3 separate regions of the Homo sapiens genome follow, and all the other regions are linked to region 1. The links are contacts of gene promoters, found by promoter capture Hi-C in human tissues and cell types (Jung and others, 2019). All regions are on one chromosome and are shown on one strand. Each heading gives the region's core, a stretch centred on a gene start or on the middle of the fragment in contact. The rest is flanking DNA. Distances are from core to core; before and after follow the strand shown.

Region 1 (3,912 bases), core at 1,413-3,912:
CCCAGCTGTGTCTATTTTAAAAGCAGTTCAATGACAGCTTGCACTTATGAGCATGCAATCAGCTAATTTCGTTTTTTTTTTCTTCTGTGTTAATCAACACTTTCCTTCCTGCATATCAGAGTACAAATAGTATAGTTACTCCACATCAGTAAATGTTTACGTAACCTGTCCTTTCCCAAGAATCCGGTTACACCGAATCATTTCACGCTAGACCGACTACGAAAACGTACCGGGCCGTCCACCTCAGAGGGAGCCCTGTGTGCCATTATAAGTGGTGGTGAGAAGGGGGGCTGTAAGAGGAGAAATTGGGAGGAGTAGGTGGAGGAATGGAGAGACAGAGGAATGGAGGGTGGGGGGAAGGGGCGGGGGGAGCTAAGGGAGAAGGAGGGAGGAGGGAGGAAGGAGAGTTGAGGAAAAGTAGGAAGAACGGGCCTGAAGAGGGGAGAAGAGTGGGAGGAGGAAAAGTGAGTAGGAAGGGGAAGGCCCACAAATCTCTCCAGCCGGTAGGCAAAGCCCATTAGCTCACCCGGCCCTGCGAGAAATCCAGAGCTTGGAAATAAATGTTTGGGACCATGTCACTATCAACACTGATTGTTGGAACCCTTGAATTTTTCCACATGTAAATACAGTTTGTTTTAAAGTGAGAAGATATGTAGACATAGGTAAAGATACATACATACAGTGGAAGGACATTTGAGGTTAGTCCAATATTCAAAGCTCCTTTGTGGCATTCCTAATAGATGCATATTTAAAATTCACTAGCTATTTGTAATTATCTATTATTCTCTCCAGTTTCCTCCCCCCCCCCCAACCTTTTCTCTCTTTCTCTTTCTTAAGACTGGGGGTGGGGAGGATGGAATAACCCCCTATTATCCTGAGTATTCATCAACCGCATTCTTTATGTTACAATTTAACTTTAGGATCAAGCATAAGCACCAATTTTCCTTCCTTCGTTTTCTTAAATACCAAATCTGCCAGATATCTTAATGAAAGTTTATCCAAGTGAAGAAATGCTTACATTTTATAATTATTTACCTTCTAGAGGAAGGAAAAGGTGCCTTTCATTTATGCTTCTCCACCTCCCTCTTCTCTGGGGCTACATCCTCCGTAAAATGTGGTATGTTTCGTGCCCATGTGGGATGAAACAGCCTTTGATCAATGTGCTCCCCACTAAATTCCAATCCCTGGGAAATGCTGGGCCTTAGCCCTGCCCCTGGCCACGGGATCCTTTTAAAGCCCCCGATTCGCAATTTCCCCATTCACTTCAACCTCCAACCGAACCTTCCCAGTTCCAAAGCCCAAGAAGCTGGGACTGTGAGATCCACGTTCCCAAGGCTCCCCGGTGCTTTCCAGCAGCACTCAGGGTTGGCAAGAGCTGGCTTCAGTATACTGTTATTTCAGGAATGAGGCCCGCACAAAATAAAAGCATTTGAGAAACGGAAAGGAAAAAAAAGGAGTGAAAATAGGAAGGCTTAAAAAAAAAACCGGAAAGAAATAGACGCCCACCCTTATTTTCCCTCCAATGTCAACAAGCAAAACGAAAATATTTCCAGGGTGATCGCTCGCAGCTACCCGCTTCCAATTCGGATTAGAAGCTGAGGCTGGAGCGGCGAGGAGAAAACGACATCGAGTCACCCCGCGCGTGAGCGACGCTCTGGAGCAGGAGAGAAGGAAAAGGAAGAGACACACGTATATAGCATGTGTTACCTGATTTATTTCGAGATTGTTTGGTACTGTTTTCTCTCTGGGCACCTCTCATTTCGGAAGGCCATCAGAGGCGCCCACTACTGAGCGGCCCCGGCCGCCGCAGCAGCACCCGGAGCCCCAGTCCCGGTTTCCCCGCGGTGCCGGAGCCCGGAGCTCGCCGCCGCCCAGGCCTCAGGAATCGAGTAAGTAACCCCTGTTTGGCCCCGCGCTCCTCTGCCCACTTCCTCCTCCTCATCTCATCGCTCCCAAAGCTCTCCCACACCCTCCTCCCCCGAAGTAAAGGACACCCCCGCACACACGCCAGCGGTGGGCCTTATCTCCCCCCTTATCCAAAGCTGCGCTAGACTATTACCTACAAAGGGCACAATTTTCCTGCTGGCTCAGAAATGCCAGACACTGGCCTGCAAGGCCGACTCGGAAAAGTAGTGCCTCGCCTCTACCTCCTCCATTTCCTGCCCTCTCGCATCCTCTCCCTGCACTCCCACTCTTCCCACTACCACCACCACCCCCGCTTTCAAAAATAAAATTGGATACAAACTTTAATCACTAAGGACAAATATTGACGCTTAAACGAAAATGACCCAGTACAATGAGGAGGAAGCCGGAAATGTGAGCTATTGGCCCTAGGAGGGGAATTTCGGTGGAGCGGAGCCGGCGGGGTGGAGGGGGTGGCGGGGGCGCAGGGAAGGGCTGCGGCACCGCGTGCTCCCGCCGGCGTATCCCTACGCGGCTCCGCGCGGCCTCGGGGTCCGAGGCCCGCGGAGAGGGGGAGGCGAGCGCCCGAGGGGGCGGCAGCCGGCGGGCGGGGCGGGGGTGGGTGGGCCCGGCCCCTCCGATTGGTCGACGGCGAGAGAGACGCTCCCGCACGCCGCCAGCTCTGATTGGCCCAGCGGTAGGAAAGGTTAAACCAAAAATTTTTTTACAGCCCTAGTGTGCGCCTGTAGCTCGGAAAATTAATTGTGGCTATAGCCGCCTCGATCGCTGTCTCCCCAGCCTCGCCGCGGCCGCTCCGGGACGCGCCCGCCCGCCGCCCGGCTCTCCCCCCCTTTGGGCTGCTGCTGCTGCTGCTGTGACTGCTGCTGCGAGAGGAGGAGGAGGAGGAGGAAGCAGCGGGGGGGGGAGCGGGGGGTGGGGGGGGAGACCAAGAAGTACAGTTGGGAGCGAGGGAGCTTCACCCCCGGGGCGGTGGTTGTTTCTTTTTTCTTTCTTTCTTTTTTCTTTTCCTTTTTTTTTTTTTTTCTAATTCCTGAGGGGTGGTTGCTGCTTTTGCTACATGACTTGCCAGCGCCCGAGCCTGCGGTCCAACTGCGCTGCTGCCGGAGCGCTCAGTGCCGCCGCTGCCGCCCGCGCCCCCCGCGCCCCGTTCGGCACCCACCGGTCGCCGCCGCCCGCCGCGCCGCTGTCCCGCTCCCGCGCCGCCGCCGCCGTTTCCCCCCGACGACTGGGTGATGCTGGACATGGGAGATAGGAAAGAGGTGAAAATGATCCCCAAGTCCTCGTTCAGCATCAACAGCCTGGTGCCCGAGGCGGTCCAGAACGACAACCACCACGCGAGCCACGGCCACCACAACAGCCACCACCCCCAGCACCACCACCACCACCACCACCATCACCACCACCCGCCGCCGCCCGCCCCGCAACCGCCGCCGCCGCCGCAGCAGCAGCAGCCGCCGCCGCCGCCGCCCCCGGCACCGCAGCCCCCCCAGACGCGGGGCGCCCCGGCCGCCGACGACGACAAGGGCCCCCAGCAGCTGCTGCTCCCGCCGCCGCCACCGCCACCACCGGCCGCCGCCCTGGACGGGGCTAAAGCGGACGGGCTGGGCGGCAAGGGCGAGCCGGGCGGCGGGCCGGGGGAGCTGGCGCCCGTCGGGCCGGACGAGAAGGAGAAGGGCGCCGGCGCCGGGGGGGAGGAGAAGAAGGGGGCGGGCGAGGGCGGCAAGGACGGGGAGGGGGGCAAGGAGGGCGAGAAGAAGAACGGCAAGTACGAGAAGCCGCCGTTCAGCTACAACGCGCTCATCATGATGGCCATCCGGCAGAGCCCCGAGAAGCGGCTCACGCTCAACGGCATCTACGAGTTCATCATGAAGAACTTCCCTTACTACCGCGAGAACAAGCAGGGCTGGCAGAACTCCATCCGCCACAATCTGTCCCTCAACAAGTGCTTCGTGAAGGTGCCGCGCCACTACGACGACCCGGGCAAGGGCA
Region 2 (3,912 bases), core at 609-3,108, 310 kb after region 1:
AAAATGGCCTGGTGCAGTGGCTCACACCTGTAATCTCAGCTTTTTGGGAGGCCAAGGTGTTGGATCACTTCAGGCAAGGAGTTCGACTGGCCAACATGGTGAATCTCTGTCTCTACTGAAAATACAAAAAATTAGCTGGACATGGTGGTGCGTACCTGTAGTCCCAGCTACTTGGGAAGCTGAGGCATAAGAATCCCTTGATCCCATGAGGCGTAGGTTGAAGTGAGCCGAGAGTCGGCCACTGCACTCCAGCCTGGGCAGCGGAGTAATACTCTGTCTCAGGAAAAAAAAAAAAAAAAATCCACGCCCTCTAAATTTAGCATCAGTTGATGTTTCCTGCCTGAAATAATCTTTGGAGTGATATTTGCAAGGTAATAATTTTACAGCTCTAGCACTCCCTTTATATTTATGAATCAGCACTCAACATTCTACTATAAACAAGAGTCTTTCTTTTGTCTTTTATGTTTATTTATGATTGCATGATATATATTTTTAAAGGATAACTTTGCCGCTCAGAGTATGTTTTAAATGGGGCAAGAGTAGAAGGAAGAGAGATCAATTATCTGGCTATGATAAAAAGTTTAAGAAAGAGATAATAATATCTCCAATAAGAATGGCAGCAAATCAGATGGGGATAAATGGGTCAATTTGAGATATGTTTGGACTTCAAGTAAATAAGATTTGTTTAGATATATAGGATGAGAGATAGGTTTCATTCCTGAACAACTAGATAGAGTTGCCATTGCAGGAAGATAGGAGAAAAGCAGGGTTTGGCAAAGAGAAGATTGATTTCAGGTCTGCCAAATTTAAAACAGTTATCATACACTGAAATGGAGAGGTTAAGTAGGCAGTCACATAAACTAGTTTGTAATTTAAGGTTTTGTCTATACTGGAGATATATATTTAAGAGCCAAGATCCTATCGATGATATCTAATTATTAATGATAAGAAGGTCTAGGATAGACCCTGAGCAGGGTAGAGAGAGAGTCAGCAAAGAAGTCTTAGAAGAGCATCCAATAAGGCAGAGGAAACTAGTAGAGTACTTTCTTATGGAAGTGCAAAAAGGAGAATGTTTCAGATTCAAGCCAACTGGGTGAAATATATTGAGTTCTGCTGACAGCTGTTGAAATATTCAGTTGGCTACATAGATATGCCCACTTGGATGTATCACAAGTATCTCCAGAAAGTTTGAGTTATCTTAGTCTTTTCTACATCCACCTTTAATCTATCATAAAACTCCTTTTGACTCTACTTTCAAAACATATACTGAATAAAACATCTCACCACTTCTGCTACCCTTTCCATCTAAGCTATTGCTATTACTCAAGTAATTGCACAGCTTCATAGTCTCCATCTTTACATCTTATGTCCCTTTGGTTAATGTTGAACATTGAATGATCCAGTTAAAATATAACTCATCTTATACCACTTATCAGTTCTCACTCAGGACAAAAGCCAATGTACTTACAATGACCTAGAATACATGAGCTGGCACATGCCACACTACTTCACTGACATCATTTCCTGCAACTTTACCTCCCATTATCTTTTCTCCAGCCACAATGGCTGTCCTAGGACATGCTAGGCAACATCTCACCTCAAAGCTTTTTAGGAAATCTTTCATATGGATGGCAAATAAACACATAAAAAGATGTTTGACATTACTAGCCATTAAGGAATTGCAAATTGAATCACAACGAGACAACACTATACAGCTATCAGAATGGTTAAACAAACTGTAATGGCAATACGAAATGCTGGCAAGGTTGCAAAGAAACTTGATCACTCATACATTGCTGATGGGAATGTAAAATGGTACAGACATTCTGCAAAACAGTTGGGCAGGGTTTTATTTTTATAAAATTAAACATGCAATCCAGCAGTTGCTCTCTTGAGCACTTTCTCCCAGAGAAATAGAAACTTATGTTCAAGTAAGAACCAGTATACAAATGTTTATAGCAGCTTTATTCACAGTAGTTAAAAACTGGAAACAACGCAAATCTCTTTCAATGGAGTGAATGTTTAAACAAACTGTGGTACATCCAGATCAAAGAATATTACTCAGAAATAAAAATGAACAAGCTATTGATAAATGCAACAACTTCAATGAACTTTAAAAGGATTATGATGAATGAAAAATGCCAATCCCAGAAGGTAATATATTGTATAATTCTACTCATTTAACATTCTTGAATGGCAAAATTATAAAGATAGAGAGCAGATTAGTCATGGTCAGAGGTTAAGAATGGGAAAGATGGCAGAAGGGGGGTGGATGTGATTATAAAAAGGAAGCACAACAGATCCTTGTGGCAATGGCACTGTTTTGCATATTTAATATGATGGCATTTACACAAACATACATATCTGTTAAAATTGCATACAGCTAATTAAACACATGCACATACATGTGTATAAAATTGGGAAAATATGAAAAAGATCAGTGGATTATATTGTGTGTGTGTGCGTGTGTGGTTTTTTTTTTTTTTTTTACTTGTGACATTGTTCCTTATTTTCACAAGAGGTTATCAGGGATTGAAATTGAAATTGAATGAAGAGTACACAGGATCTTTCCATATGATTTCTTAGAACTTCATGTGAATCTATACTTATCTCAACATTTTAAAAAGGGTTAATTCGAAACCTTTATTTTCTGTTTTTTTTTTCTGTGTAGTATTCTAATGTATGCATATATCTCAATTATAAATTTGAATTGTGATATACGTTTGCTTTTTCTTCCACTTTTGACTAATATGAATAATGTTTTTAATAAATAATCTATACATATATTTTAATGTACATCAGGATATCTCAGCCTTGACACTATTGCCATTTTGGTCTAAAAATTCTCTTTTGTTGGGAGTCTCTACTGTATGTTGTAAGATGTCTAGCAGCATTACTGGTGTCTACCAATTAAATGCCAGTAGCACCTCCTCTCCAAATTTTGAAAGTCAAATATGTCTCTAGATGTTACCAGATACATTTTGGGGACAAAATCACTCCTGACTGAGCACCACTGATTTACATAGCTGTACACTTTTCAACGGCGTAAAAGTGGAGTGGAATTGCTCTTAATCATTACCTTTAAATCAAGATAGAGAATGTGATTTGTTTTTCCAAAATTATTTCACCCATTTGTATGCCCATCACCCATTTGTATAAAAATTACCATTTTTTGTATCCTTGTCAGCATTAGGTATTATCAGACTTTTAAATTTTATCCATTCTGTTATACTGGCAGTGAAATCTCATTATCAATTTAATTTGCATTCTTTCATTATTAATGAAGTTGTCCATCTTTTTAAAAGTATCTTTATTGGTCACTTGAATCTACTCTTTCATAGTGTCTGCAGATCTTTTGACTGTGCTTCCATGGGTTTAAATATTTATAACTTTTGTTGCAGTTTTGTAAAAAATTATTTTAATGCATTTTGGATATAAGCACCCTGTGTGTTGTGTCTGCACACACATACACATACACATACGCATACACACATATCATATTTTCTCCCACTCACTGGTTTCCCTTGACAATGTGGTTTCACAGTAGGAAGATGCATAGACCAAGAATAGCTAGAACATTCTTGAAAAAGAAGAAGGTGGAAAAACCTGTTCTATTGAATATCAAGAACTACTGAAGACACATTAACCAAGAGAGTCTGGCATTGGCCCAACCGTAAATAAATAGACCAGAGGAAGAAAATAAAAAACCCAAAACAAACTCACACATATTCAGATGCTTGATTTGAGAGGAAGATCACATTACAGAGGAATGTAAAGACTCATATTTCAATAAATGGACATGGGAAATTAGTATATATTTGGGAAGATGAAACATAATTCCTACAGTATACCATACACAAAAATCAATTTCTGATAATTTATGAACCTAATTTGAAACAATAAAGCATTTAG
Region 3 (3,912 bases), core at 364-2,863, 270 kb after region 1:
CAGAAGGTTTCCATTATGCAAGAGTACCAATATTAAAAATGCTCTGTAGAAATTAGGAAAACAAACACGCTCATTGCTAGAAATTAAACTCTGAACCCTATTGTAATTGTATTAATCATGAAATTTACCACATTATTTTTGTAAATAAATTGATTCAGATGAATACTTAAAATTTCATCAATAATTTTAGAATATATTTAAATAAGTAATCACTCTTTATATTACAGCTTTTCTTTTGCAAGCGAGATACACACTATCACTTAGTGTTCATATTTAAGTTAATGTTTATTTACAAATTACAAGTGACTGTCACAAGTAGAGTTTTATTAAATGAGTCTTGTAATGGAAAGGATTTGAATTAAAGCATGTACTGTACTTCTTTATATAGTTTTTTCTTCATTTGCAACAACAAGCCTAGAAATTAACATAATTTATTTTTAAGAAATTGATGTTCTTCTGCAGAATAATAACCATTCTCATTTTGACCTATTGAACTAGCTTTCTATTTACAAAAAATAATTAAATGTTGGTCAGAATGTGGCATCTTCTGAGGTTTTCTAATCACCAGCATTATCAGTCCAGGCCATTTCTTTGCCAACCCTACATTAATATACTTAACTAATGAGTTATGAACCTTTAAGAGCCTTCTCCTTCTGCACTAAACTTTCCTAAGAATTACTCCAAATGCTTTCTCATCTTTTCATCTGTGTACCTTTTTCTTGTTCTATCTCAATCTTTTGTTTTTTATTTATTTATTTTTTTGGTTGCTCAAGGGAACTATCTGGCATTTTAAAAAATTCAAATTAATGATAAAAATTATATCAATTTTTATCCCACCAAGTTTATGGAGGTATGCCCACTTTATTTACATTAATTAGAAATCTTCAGTTTTAATTGTAATTTTTAATAGGAAAATGTTCTTTCCTGCTAAATGTTCTACAAAATTTCACGTCATCTTTAACAGCATTGAAGCACAGAATGTAAAAATGGAAAGAACAGAAGATATCAAATTTAACCCTGCTTATTTATATATGTGTCAACTGAGGCCCAGAGAAATGAAGAACTATGCATAAAGTCAAACAGCTAATTAGTATTAGACTGGTATGCTATACAAATATAGATTTAAAAAAGTATTTCTTATATTGTTAGCCATTAAAGTCATTTGTATATATACAGGCATATGTGCATATAATTGTTTCATTAACTTTGCCAATCAAAAATGACTATTGTCTCTATGTGATATTGTATCCTGAATGTATCCTGGAACAGAAAGAGGCAATTAATGGAAAAAGTGGTGAAATTTGAATGAAATCTGGTGGTTAGTTAATAGTTATGCATCAAGGTTCATTTCTTAGTTTTGGCAACTATACTATGGTAATGTAAGGTGTTAACATTTGGGAAAAGTGGGTTAAAATATACAGGAACTCTTTGTAATATTTTGCAATTTCTCTGGAAAGCTAAAATTATTTCAAAGTAAAAATTATATTAAAATACTCACTTATAATTCAGGATTATACATAAGGCCATTTACTTTAGATACCTAAAAAAAGAAAAAGATTCAGATTCTCTTTATGCACAAACTACCCTTTCATTGTAAGCTGCAATTCTGTTATGTGCCTTACAGATAGCATAAGTTGAGTTCCTCAGGAAAAAGACTCAGAACAGAGATCTATCTGCAGGAGGATTACTGGGGAGAGCTCTTGGGAATAACATATACTAGGTAGAAAGGAAAATAGAGTTTGCCAAGGGAAGAGTTAAAATGTAGTAAAGGTGTAACAGAGGCCCCAACACATCTGATGGGGATAGCAGTTCAAAGATGTTCCAAACAGAGGCAAAAAGAGGCAAGGCCTTTGTACCCACCATGCCCACAAGTCTTTGGGAGTAGGCTATCCCAGGGAAGGGGCAGACTTTGAACAGGCAGCTCTCTTCAGTCGAGGGCAAATCCTGGGGAGAGACTCAGCTGTGAGCTCTCAGCAGCAACTCTCCTGCAGCTGGAGGAGTGAGCACCTTAGTTTTAAAGAAGGGATTTATCTATTGTGCCACAGCATCCACTGAAGTGAAGGTAACTCTTGAGCACAATGATTGGTCATAGGATGAATTTAAAATTAGACAAATGTGGCAGTTTCACTAGGCACAGGTAGTCAAAGTTACATGAGTTTTACTGAAATTTTTCTTGTTCCAAGAAGTTTTCCTCTTGAATTTTTCTTCATGTTTGTACCTGTAATTATCTATATATTTCATAACATCTATTCCAAGATGTTAATTATTTGGGTTGAAAAGGAAACAGAAAAGGATTTTTTTTAAGTGTACTTTTTTGGTTATTTAAAGGATGTGATTTTAGATGTGGGAAATATACACAGGAAGTCCACTGAGTTTGCTTATCTGAATGTATAATAAATTCTTACACCACCCCTATCTTCCACATTTGTCTAAGTGAAATTCATCTTCATTTTCATTAAGCATGGCTAAGTTATGTTGTAACAAATCAACCCCAATATCTCGGTGCCTTACCACATCCAACCTTACATGTCTAATAAGAGCTAGCAATGGTGCACAGAGGGCCCTATTATCTTGTAGTCCTGGTCTGGAACAGAGAGACTGTAAAACCACTGGAGGAGAGGCAGGGAGAAATGGAGGCAACACGTCTCTGAAACCAGAAGTGACTCTTCTGCTCATAGTCTAGTGTCTAAAACATGTCACATAGTTTCAACCTAACTGCAGGGGAAGCTAGGAAATGTAAAGGAATACATGGAGAACCAACAGACTCTGTCAAAACTGGCTAGTGAACCTTCTGGAATATTCTCATAGATCGCTCCAACCCAGCAAAGACAAGACATAATTCGTATTTCAATCTTCTTTATTTCAATACTGGCTAGAGTCTTAGCCATCACAGAAGCTTCTCTGAGCAGAAGAATAAGGTCAATCTTTGTGCCATATATATTTTTATATTAGCTATATTGGTTAGTGAAGCAACAACTTGAACATTCAGACTGTTAACATTTTTAAGGACACACATAAAAATGCTTTGGTGAGTTACATAATTATGGGAAGACAGAAATTTCATTTTAAAAATCTTTTGAATCTATTATGGAAATTAGCTTTACAATTATAAAATCCTAGACTTAAAATATCTAGGCAAGGATATTTTATGTGCTGGTTGCTTTATAAAGATCCACAATGTATTAGGGCAAATAGGACATACAAAAATCATCAGCAAATATCCAAACAGAACATCAGTAAAGAGCATTAGAGGGTGAGGCTTTTATACAGAGGCATGTATTTCCTTGCCATATGGTACTGGTTTTTCAGTTAAAATATTTTCCTTTCTGAGAAAAAAAAGCCTCTCTCTGTTAATGGTAGAGTAAACCTGTTTTTTTTTTTTTTTTAATTAGAATTACCATTTGTCATGAATACTGGTCACAGGAACATGAGTCTTCTTATTAAAGATGTGTAAAGTTATAGTTAAAATTCTGGGCCCTAAAATCACACCACCTGAATAAAGTTACTGGCTCTGTCAGTTACTGTTTCTGGGCAATCAATTAACCTCTCTGTGGCTGAGTTTCTTCATCTATAAAACAGACATAATAGTTTTATCTACCTAACAGTGTTGCTGCAAGAACAAAACAGTATTTGTAAAATGTTTATTTCAATGCCTGGCACATAGTAAACTCTGGATTTGCTGTTGTTATAGCTACTGTTCAACCACTTCTAAAAAACAACAAATTAGTTTTATAACAGAGGAAGCCTTTATAATGAACAATTTCAGTCCAATGGAAGATTTATTTTAAAAAATGGCACCAATATACATTTTTGAACGCTAAAATAAGTTTTATGAACATTACTCATTTTTTTCCTTTTCTTGTACTTTGTCTTTTCCAACCAGAAAATCATTTCAATGGGAAAATATGTTGG

What was found. The method cuts DNA at HindIII sites, captures the fragments that hold promoters and counts their contacts. A contact is called where the count stands out against the background at its distance.
Region 2: a fragment that was not itself captured here is called in contact with the fragment with the promoter of FOXG1 in region 1 in 2 of the 25 tissues and cell types used here (mesendoderm cells and thymus).
Region 3: a fragment that was not itself captured here is called in contact with the fragment with the promoter of FOXG1 in region 1 in 4 of the 25 tissues and cell types used here (IMR-90 fibroblasts, dorsolateral prefrontal cortex, lymphoblastoid cells and 1 more).

The regions. Positions count from the first base shown.
Region 1 is chr14:28,764,125-28,768,036 of GRCh38, forward strand. FOXG1 (forkhead box G1) reads left to right here and starts at 2,663. Exons shown (of 1, transcript NM_005249.5): 1 at 2,663-3,912. The coding sequence starts at 3,156. It overlaps FOXG1-AS1 (FOXG1 antisense RNA 1), which reads right to left and starts at 1,195. Exons shown (of 7, transcript NR_125758.1): 1 at 1,036-1,195. RefSeq lists an enhancer at 1,794-2,318. The HindIII fragment of the contact is 7,501 bases long and covers 2,112-3,912 here.
Region 2 is chr14:29,074,472-29,078,383 of GRCh38, forward strand. The region is part of intron 8 of LOC107984685 (a long non-coding RNA gene); the gene reads left to right. Among named protein-coding and RNA genes, the nearest start is that of LINC02326, 11 kb to the left of the region's middle. The HindIII fragment of the contact is 7,574 bases long and covers 1-3,912 here.
Region 3 is chr14:29,031,238-29,035,149 of GRCh38, forward strand. All of the region lies in intron 2 of LINC02326 (long intergenic non-protein coding RNA 2326), which reads right to left. The region is part of intron 5 of LOC107984685 (a long non-coding RNA gene); the gene reads left to right. Among named protein-coding and RNA genes, the nearest start is that of LINC02326, 32 kb to the right of the region's middle. The HindIII fragment of the contact is 5,798 bases long and covers 1-3,912 here.